Linked DNA regions of Homo sapiens: regions 2 and 3 are each linked to region 1. The links are contacts of gene promoters, found by promoter capture Hi-C in human tissues and cell types (Jung and others, 2019). All regions are on one chromosome and are shown on one strand. The core of a region is centred on a gene start or on the middle of the fragment in contact, and the rest is flanking DNA. Distances in the headings are between cores, read along the strand shown. Region 1 holds the start of SKOR2 (SKI family transcriptional corepressor 2). Region 2 overlaps MIR4527HG (MIR4527 host gene). Region 3 overlaps MIR4527HG (MIR4527 host gene).

Region 1 (2,700 bases), core at 135-2,634:
TTTCGATTTTCATGTCTCTGTAACTGTGTTTTCAGGATATTAATTTAAAATAGACACAACTCCTGAGCAACAAGCCCCTCACGTTTCTGTTCAATTGACTTTCCTTGGGTTTATTAACCTTTGATGAAGGTTAAGATTTCACATTTTTGCTCTTGTATTTAGGAGTGGTATGTTGTTGGTGCTATGACACAATCTGGGTGGGCTTTCAGCTTGGTAGATGTTTTTCCATCATTTCCACAATGCTAGGACTGTTTCACTAGGCAGCAATTGAAAATTCAGCTATGGTAGTAAAGGAAAAACTTAAAGGATTTCCCAGCCCCACCCCAGCCGGCATCCTTCTTAGAACATACTCCAAATAAGTGGTTTCTTTCCTTTCCGATAAACTAGCCAGTGGTCGTTTTGACTCTTAACAGCTGGTCAATTGGGACGCACTATATTGACACTTCATTAATACACTAGGGTGCGCCTCATTTAGGGAAACTGTGAGGAAATGTTTTCTCATCCTAGTCTTTATTTTAGGGGAGGAGATCATGCTTCTACATGTTTTCCTGATTAAATTTATTTATTTCTCCAGGAAAATTGGCAACTTGCTGAAGGACTCTTCCATGTGGGGGACCTCCCTGCTTCCCTGCCCCACCCTTTCCTTGTGTAGAGGTAGCCTTACGGATCTTGTAAAATGGGTTAGAGGACGATTCTGAATGAAGTTTGATAAATCGATGTGCATATGCACATATTGGGGTCCTCACCTAATTGTACACTCCATAAAATAGAGAAGGCTGCAGTGACTCTGCATCTTGTCCTATAAAGCAAATGTATATGCAAAAGTCGGGGCACTCCAAGTTTTCTGATTGGGCACCCTATGTGGAAACTTCTCTCCTTTTTCTCATTTCATAGCGTTTCAAAGGAGTCACTGAAGCTAATTTATTCTCCAGCTGACTGTGGATTCTGTCTTCAGACACAGAGCAGCTTTGCATCCTGTACCAGAGGGATCATTCATGAAGGAGGGTGACTCAGAAATGAGGGGAGGAGACAATAACGGTCAGGGATATAGTTAATTTGGAGGCGTCCTTCTAGAATCCGGGGCCTCCAGGATCTAGGTCCCGGGATGCAGGCAGACTGTTCGCTTTCCACTCCTAAATCAGATCTGCGGCTCCAGCACCATTGCTGCAGTTTACTCCGGGGCTGAGGAGGTTGTTGTCAATTGCGAGTTGGTTAGGTTGGTAGCTTTCGTGCCTGCTGAGAAAGGATCTCTCTGTTGCTCGCGCTGGCTTTCGCTCTCCCCCTCCCTCCCTGTAACATGCCAGCCCTTTAATGTGGAGTGTCAGGGAGACGGTGACGTCACCCTGCCCGCTGGGTGGCGTCCCCTCGGTCCGACACGAGTTCAGAGACAGACGCTGTCAGACTGCGCTCCACTTGGGGCTCTCCTGCCGCGGGTTTCTGCGTACCCACACTTTCTGCGGTGGAGGGGACGCCCCGCCGCAATTCAGGCCGTCATTCTCCCCAGGCCGGGGTTTGAGCGCCATTCGCTCGGGCCAGAGCCCGGATCTTCGCGCGGAGCCCGCCAGAGTCCCGCCCGCTGGATACGAGGACCCGCTTGGATGCTTCGCCTCCGAGCGCCCTCGGAAGATGGGCCGGCAGCCACACGCCTAAAGACACCCAGAGGTTACCAGGTATTGCCGGAACCGGCCGCCCCAATCCGGCACACAGCTTGCTGGGCACCTATTTGAGATCCCCAGCGGTAGGATTTTCCGCGTTAGGTTGAGGGGCAGCGGTGGGCTTCCGTGGTGACTGGTTTGGGAGTCGGGAGAACTAAGTTGGGGGTGGGGGGGTCTTTGGCTGTTGGGCAGGATAGGGAAGTTCACCAGGTTCCTTTCTCAGTTCAACTAACTTTTAATTGTCTCTTCTCCCCTCCCCACCCACCCAAAAAATAATGCCCCAACCAAAACCTTGTGTCTGCTCTGACGGCAGTTTCTGGGAGGGCTTGGGGTAAAAGTGAGGAGACACTTCTGCCTGGTCTACTGCTGCTAAGGCTGCGAGTCCTTAACGCAGAGCCAGCTTCCCGCCCCGGCTGGCCAGCCGCGCGCCTTGCTGGGGAGCGAGAGTTGGAATTATCCCAGGGTCTTATTAAGCGGATATGAATCTTGTTTGGTAGGGAAATGAGCATCGAAGGGCCACCTGACGAAGCTAGTGTTGGTTGTATCAGACTCGGGTGTCACTGCGCCTTGAACTGCCATGTAACGCCCTGTCCCCTGGAAATATTGTCTCTGATCCACCCAAAGTGACAAGCAGGCTTTCCTCTCCTTTGATCGCGTCGAGGTTTGTTCAAGCTTCCTGGAGGCCGCCAAATGTAATGAGAACTGAGGATCCAGGGGGCAGCAGGACAGAGGCTGCTGTATAGATGCCACAGGGGCCCAGAGAGAGGACACGGATAAGAAATTGGGTGAGGGAGTAAGATCGTGTACCCTCTGAAAGCACTGTAATAGCGAACTCGCTGTACGTGGCCGAAAGGGGCCACGCTATGGCCTCTGGTGATTTTTCAGGGCAAAGCATGCCTTGGCCAATGCGCTTGAGATGTAGCTGTGGAAAGATCAGTGTTTGTTTTCCTAGGGAGTGAGCCACTTTCCTTCTTTCCACTTAGTGGCATTGTCACTAAAATTTCTTTCCGCTTCCTTGTTCTGTATTTTCAACTTACTGAATATT
Region 2 (2,700 bases), core at 72-2,571, 290 kb before region 1:
TTAAGCTGATAAGCAACTTCAGCAAAGTCTCAGGATACAAAATGAATGTGCAAAAATCACAAGCATTCCTATACACCATTAACGGACAAACAGAGAGCCAAATTATGAGTGAACTCACATTCACAATTGTTACAAAGAGAATAAAATACCTAGGAATCCAACTTACAAGGGATGTGAAGGACCTCTTCAAGGAGAACTACAAACCGCTGCTCAAGGAAATAAAAGAGGACACAAACAAATGGAAGTATATTCCATGCTCATGGATAGGAAGAATCAATATCGTGAAAATGGCCGTGTTGCCCAAAGTAATTTATAGATTCAATGCCATCCCCATCAAGCTACCAATGACTTTCTTCACAGAATTGGAAAAAACTACTTTAAAGTTCGTATGGAACCAAAAAAGAGCCCGCACTGCCAAGATAATCCTAAGCAAAAAGAACAAAGCTGGAGGCATCACTCTACCTGACTTCAAACGATACTACAAGGCTACAGCAACCAAAACAACACGGTACTGGTACCAAAACAGAGAGATAGACCAATGGAACAGAACAGAGGCCTCAGAAATAACACCACACATCTACAACCAGCCAATCTTTGACAAACCTGACAAAAACAAGATATGGGGAAAGCATTCCTTATTTAATAAATTGTGCTGGGAAAACTGGCTAGCCATATGTAGAAAGCTGAAACTGGATCGCTTCCTTACACCTATACAAGAATTAATTCAAGCTGGATTAAAGACTTAAATGTTAGACCTAAAACCATAAAAACTCTAGAAGAAAACCTAGGCAATACCATTCAGGACATAGGCATGGGCAAGGACTTCATGACTAAAACACTAAAAGCAATGGAAACAAAAGCTGAAATAGACAAATGGGATCTAATTAAACTAAAGAGCTTCTGCACGGCAAAAGAAACTACCATCAGAGTGAACAGACAACCTACAAAATGGGAGAAAATTTTTGCAATCTACCCATCTGACAAAGGGCTAATATCTAGAATCTACAAAGAACTTAAATTTACAAGAAAAAAACAAACCCATCAAAAAGCTGGCAAAGGATATGAACAGACATTTCTCAAAAGAAGACTTCTATGCAGCCAACAGACACATGAAAAAATACTCATCATCTCTGGCCATTGGAGAAATGCAAATCAAAATCACAATGAGACACCACCTCATGCCAGTTAGAATGGCAATCATTAAAAAGTCAGGAAACAACAGATGCTGGAGAGGATGTGGAGAAATAGGAATGCTTTTACATTGTTTGTGGGAGTGTAAATTAGTTCAACCATTGTGGAAGACAGTGTGGCGATTCCTCAAGGATGTAGAACTAGAATTGCCATCTGACCCAGCAATCCCATTACTGGGTGTATACCCAAAGGATTATAAATCATGCTACTATAAAGACACATGCACACGTATGTTTATTGTGGCACTATTCACAATAGCAAAGACTTGGAACCAACCCAAATGTCCACCAATGATAGACTGGATTAAGAAACTGTGGCACATATACACTATGGAATACTATGCAGCCATAAAAAAGGATGAGTTCATGTCCTTTGCAGGGACATGGATGAAGCTGGAAACCATCATTCTCAGCAAACTATCACAAGGACAGAAAACCAAACAACGCATGTTCTCACTCATAGGTGGGAACTGAACAATGAGATCACTTGGACACGGGGCAGGGAACATCACACACTGTGGCCTGTCAGTGGGTAGGGGGCTGAGGGAGGGATAGCATTAGAAGAAACACCTAATGTGAATGATTAGTTGATGGGTGCAGCAAGCCAACATGGCACATGTATACCTATGTATCAAACCTATACATTGTGCACATGTACCCTAGAACTTAAAGTATTAAAAAAAAAACAAAACTGTTCTTCTCCAGGTCCCCAGTTTTACCTTCCTGCTGCCAAGTCTTACAGGGAATTTTTGGTTCTTATCCTGCCCTCTTAGCTAGAATTTAGCACAGGACATATTCTCAATCTGTTACATACTCATTTATTTATCTGTCTGTTGCCTGTCTCCCACCCTGAAATGTAAACTTCCCGTGGGTGGGATGTTTGTGTATTTAAATTACTGGTGTATCCCTGGTGCCCACTCTGGCACCTGCCACATGGTAGATGTTGGATAGATGTTGGCATTGCCCAATGCACTTCCCTCCAACAATCTCAAATCTACCCCACATCACTAAGACACACAGTCATAAAATTTCAGATTTGAGGGAAACCTTTGACATGGTTAGATCAGTGTTGCTGTCCTAAAGGTGATGTTACCAACCTGATGTTCCACTGCTGGAAGCTTCTGGAAGAGCTAGCACTTGAGCCAAGTCCTCTTGGTTTTCTGCTGAGGCTCTTTCCATAACCTGTGACCCTATGCTTGTGTGACTTAGCCTGGGTGCTATAGAGTCCACTCATGGCAGGAGCAGAGGTTTGAGAGTGTGACCTCTCAAGACCAAACTGGATTCAATAACCCAGCAGGGGAGAAAAGTGTGCACATGGCAATTTATGATCTTTTTTAAAAAAACTAATTTTGTGAAAGAGTATCTAGCTTTAGTTCAACTAGTTAAATGAACATATTTGTGTTTCTGAAATATATTTGGCTCTCTTTGTATATAAATTGCTTTATGATTTTCTGGATCATATTAAACAATACAGGTGTACTGTAAATCATTCAAGAAAGTAAAAGGTACC
Region 3 (2,700 bases), core at 43-2,542, 310 kb before region 1:
CCCTCAAGAGAGTTGGGGACCCTCTCAGACTGCACTGGGGAGAAGCAAACAGATGCTGTTCAAACTGAACTTGAAGTTATACTTTGAACTGAACAGGATTGTCCTCACTGAAAGTGATCAGAAAGTTGTGGAATTTAAGTTGTCATTGAAGCATGGAGGTAGGAGACTGAGCATAGTAGGTTTGTAATCATGCTCCCTCCTTTTCAGTGAGCACAGCCACTCCCCAGCCCAGAAACAGAGCTCCCTGTCTCATATATGGGTTTTAAATCTGAGAAAGGATCCTGATTGCACAGGTTTGGGTCAATCTTCAGTCCCTCCCTGTGAACTGGCCACTGTGGGGGAAGTTCTGTAGGTAGAGAAGCTCAGTCCATCCCCAGAGGGCCGGGGAGTGGGGTATGGGAAGGGGTTCTCTTATTAGAGAAGACAGCAGCAGGGAGCTTGGGGGTAGTTACCTGCATGGAGGGAGTCAATCCCAGTGTGAGTGTTTTGTGGCTGTGCACAGCTTTGTGCTGAGTTCCTCCATTCATCTGAAAGGAGTCAATGCCTCTCCTGCCAGAATGGGGTCTCCAATCCTACCTCATCGCCTCTCATATGTGAGTTGGGTCTCCCATGTGTGAGAACAGGCTCCTGTGAGGCCCCTGCCTCCTTCTCTAGCATCCTCCTCTACGCCAAACAGAAAGCCAAGGAGGTGGGAGGTGCTCAGTGAATGCCTCGTGAATGAGTGTCTGCCTGAGTGAATGAATGACTCTGTGAATGAAAGGAAAGGAAATGAAGAGCAATTAGACACACACATACCCAGAGCTCACCTAACCACACAGCTTCCTGCCCTCCACTCATCTGCTAAAAGCTTTGTGCCCATAATATCAGGTTTGGGCTCCTCAGTCCCTGAGGGGAGGGCAAGAGGCTGCTGCTCTGTGGTCTGCAGGAGAAGGCACCAGGCTAGGGACCAGGGGAGTTGTCCTGCTGTTAATTACTTGTGTGACCTTGGGCAAGCCACTTAACCTGCCTTTGCTTCAGTTTCATCGTCCATCAAATGGGGCTAATGCTCTCTGTGTGTTTACCCCACAACAGGCATGAGGAAAACAGACAAGATGGCAAAGTTAACAGCACTTAGACAAATCTAAAAGAAAAACAGTGAGGGAGAAGGAAGGCATTCTTATGACCCTGGGCCTCCCTCGGGGGTGCATTTGATTACACAGCTGGATGTTAGCGTGGTGTGTGGGGAAGGCAGGAAGGCCCTCCACACCGAGAAGCTCGCACTTTCAGAGAAAATCCCCCAATATCCAGATGGGGTCCTGTCGTGTGCCCAGCCCTGAGAGGGGAGAATTTAAAAATGAAAGAATCCCGCCTGCCCTTAAGAAAAGATACACACCTGTAAACAATTGGATCTGCAAAAAGGGTTCAGTCATGTGTCACAGAAAATCAGTCAGTCCATAGATATTTGTTGAGCAACTACTATGTACTGGGTGCTGTTCTAGAAGTTCAGGATAGGAGGCGGACAGAGTCCTGCCCAAAGAGCTACACACCAGGGAGTGAATGAACAATAAACAAGCAGGCAGTAAATGAATGGGATGGCATCAGAGCCTGGTAAATGCTGTTTTAAAAAAATGAATAGGGTAACGCCATAAAGAGCAGCTGCGGTGGAGTAGGAGGCTGCTTTAGTGGAATGATCACAGAAAGGGTCTGGAAGGTGATGACATTAGAGCCGAGGCACACAGATGACAGCCAGAGGGCAGCGGAGGGAGGGCCCGGAAACGGGCAGGGTACCGCAAGCACAGGGAACACAGGATAAGGTGGGCTGGGCCTGGCAACATCCACCTTTACTGGCTATGAGGAGGAGGGCAAGGCAGTGGGAACCCACTGGAGGCTTAAGTAGGGGTGGACATGATCTGAGAGAGAGAGAGTGACCAAGCAAATGTGGCACAGTGTTGATGATGGATGGATATGGGTGATGAAGGCGTGACAATTCTCGTATTTTTCTTGCAGGTTTTCTACTTGGTTGAAATTATTTCAAAATAAGAAGATGAAAAACAAAAGACCACTTAGGCTTCTGGTGGACAGCTGATTGCAGGGATTGGGGGAGGAAGGACGCCTGAGGAGGCTCTTGCAGGAGTCTAGGTGACTTGGACTAGGGGGAAGATGGAAGAGAGAGGTCATTTCCAGGTCATATTTAAGGAAGTTGTGTTTGTTTTGTATTGCTCCTATAACAAGTTACCACAAACATGGTGGTTATCAAAAACACAAATTTGTCATCTTATAGTTCTGTAGGCTAGAAATCCAACACAAGTGTCACTGGGCTAAAATCACGATGTCGAGCTGTGCTCCTTTCTGGGGGCCCCAGGAGAGAATCCATTTTCTTGCCTCTCCAGCTTCCAGAGGCTTCTTTCCAGCTCTTGCACAGAACCTCCTGCTTACAGAACCAGAAAGGGTATTGAATCCTTCTCATGCTGTCATCTCTGTCTGACCACAGCCTAGAAAAGTCCTTGCTTTTAAGGACTTATGTGATTGCATCGGGCCCACCCAAGTAATCCAGAATAATCTTTCCATCTCAAGATACACAAATCTTAATCACATCTACAGAGACCCTTTTGCCATGTAAAGGAACATATTCACAGGTTCATGGAGATCAAAGCGTGGACATCTTTGGGGGCCACAATTCTGCCTATGAAAAGGTGGAACCATTAGAGTGAATTGGACTGG

The links. The method cuts DNA at HindIII sites, captures the fragments that hold promoters and counts their contacts. A contact is called where the count stands out against the background at its distance.
Region 2: a fragment that was not itself captured here is called in contact with the fragment with the promoter of SKOR2 in region 1 in 2 of the 25 tissues and cell types used here (dorsolateral prefrontal cortex and mesendoderm cells).
Region 3: a contact is called between a fragment that was not itself captured here and the fragment with the promoter of SKOR2 in region 1, in 2 of the 25 tissues and cell types used here (dorsolateral prefrontal cortex and mesendoderm cells).

The regions. Positions count from the first base shown.
Region 1 is chr18:47,250,344-47,253,043 of GRCh38, reverse strand. SKOR2 (SKI family transcriptional corepressor 2) reads left to right here and starts at 1,384. Exons shown (of 9, transcript NM_001278063.4): 1 at 1,384-1,670. RefSeq lists an enhancer at 1,000-1,516. The HindIII fragment of the contact is 10,120 bases long and covers 1-2,700 here.
Region 2 is chr18:47,538,000-47,540,699 of GRCh38, reverse strand. The region is part of intron 1 of MIR4527HG (MIR4527 host gene); the gene reads right to left. Among named protein-coding and RNA genes, the nearest start is that of MIR4527, 160 kb to the right of the region's middle. The HindIII fragment of the contact is 3,776 bases long and covers 1-2,700 here.
Region 3 is chr18:47,556,401-47,559,100 of GRCh38, reverse strand. All of the region lies in intron 1 of MIR4527HG (MIR4527 host gene), which reads right to left. Among named protein-coding and RNA genes, the nearest start is that of MIR4527, 180 kb to the right of the region's middle. The HindIII fragment of the contact is 3,638 bases long and covers 1-2,700 here.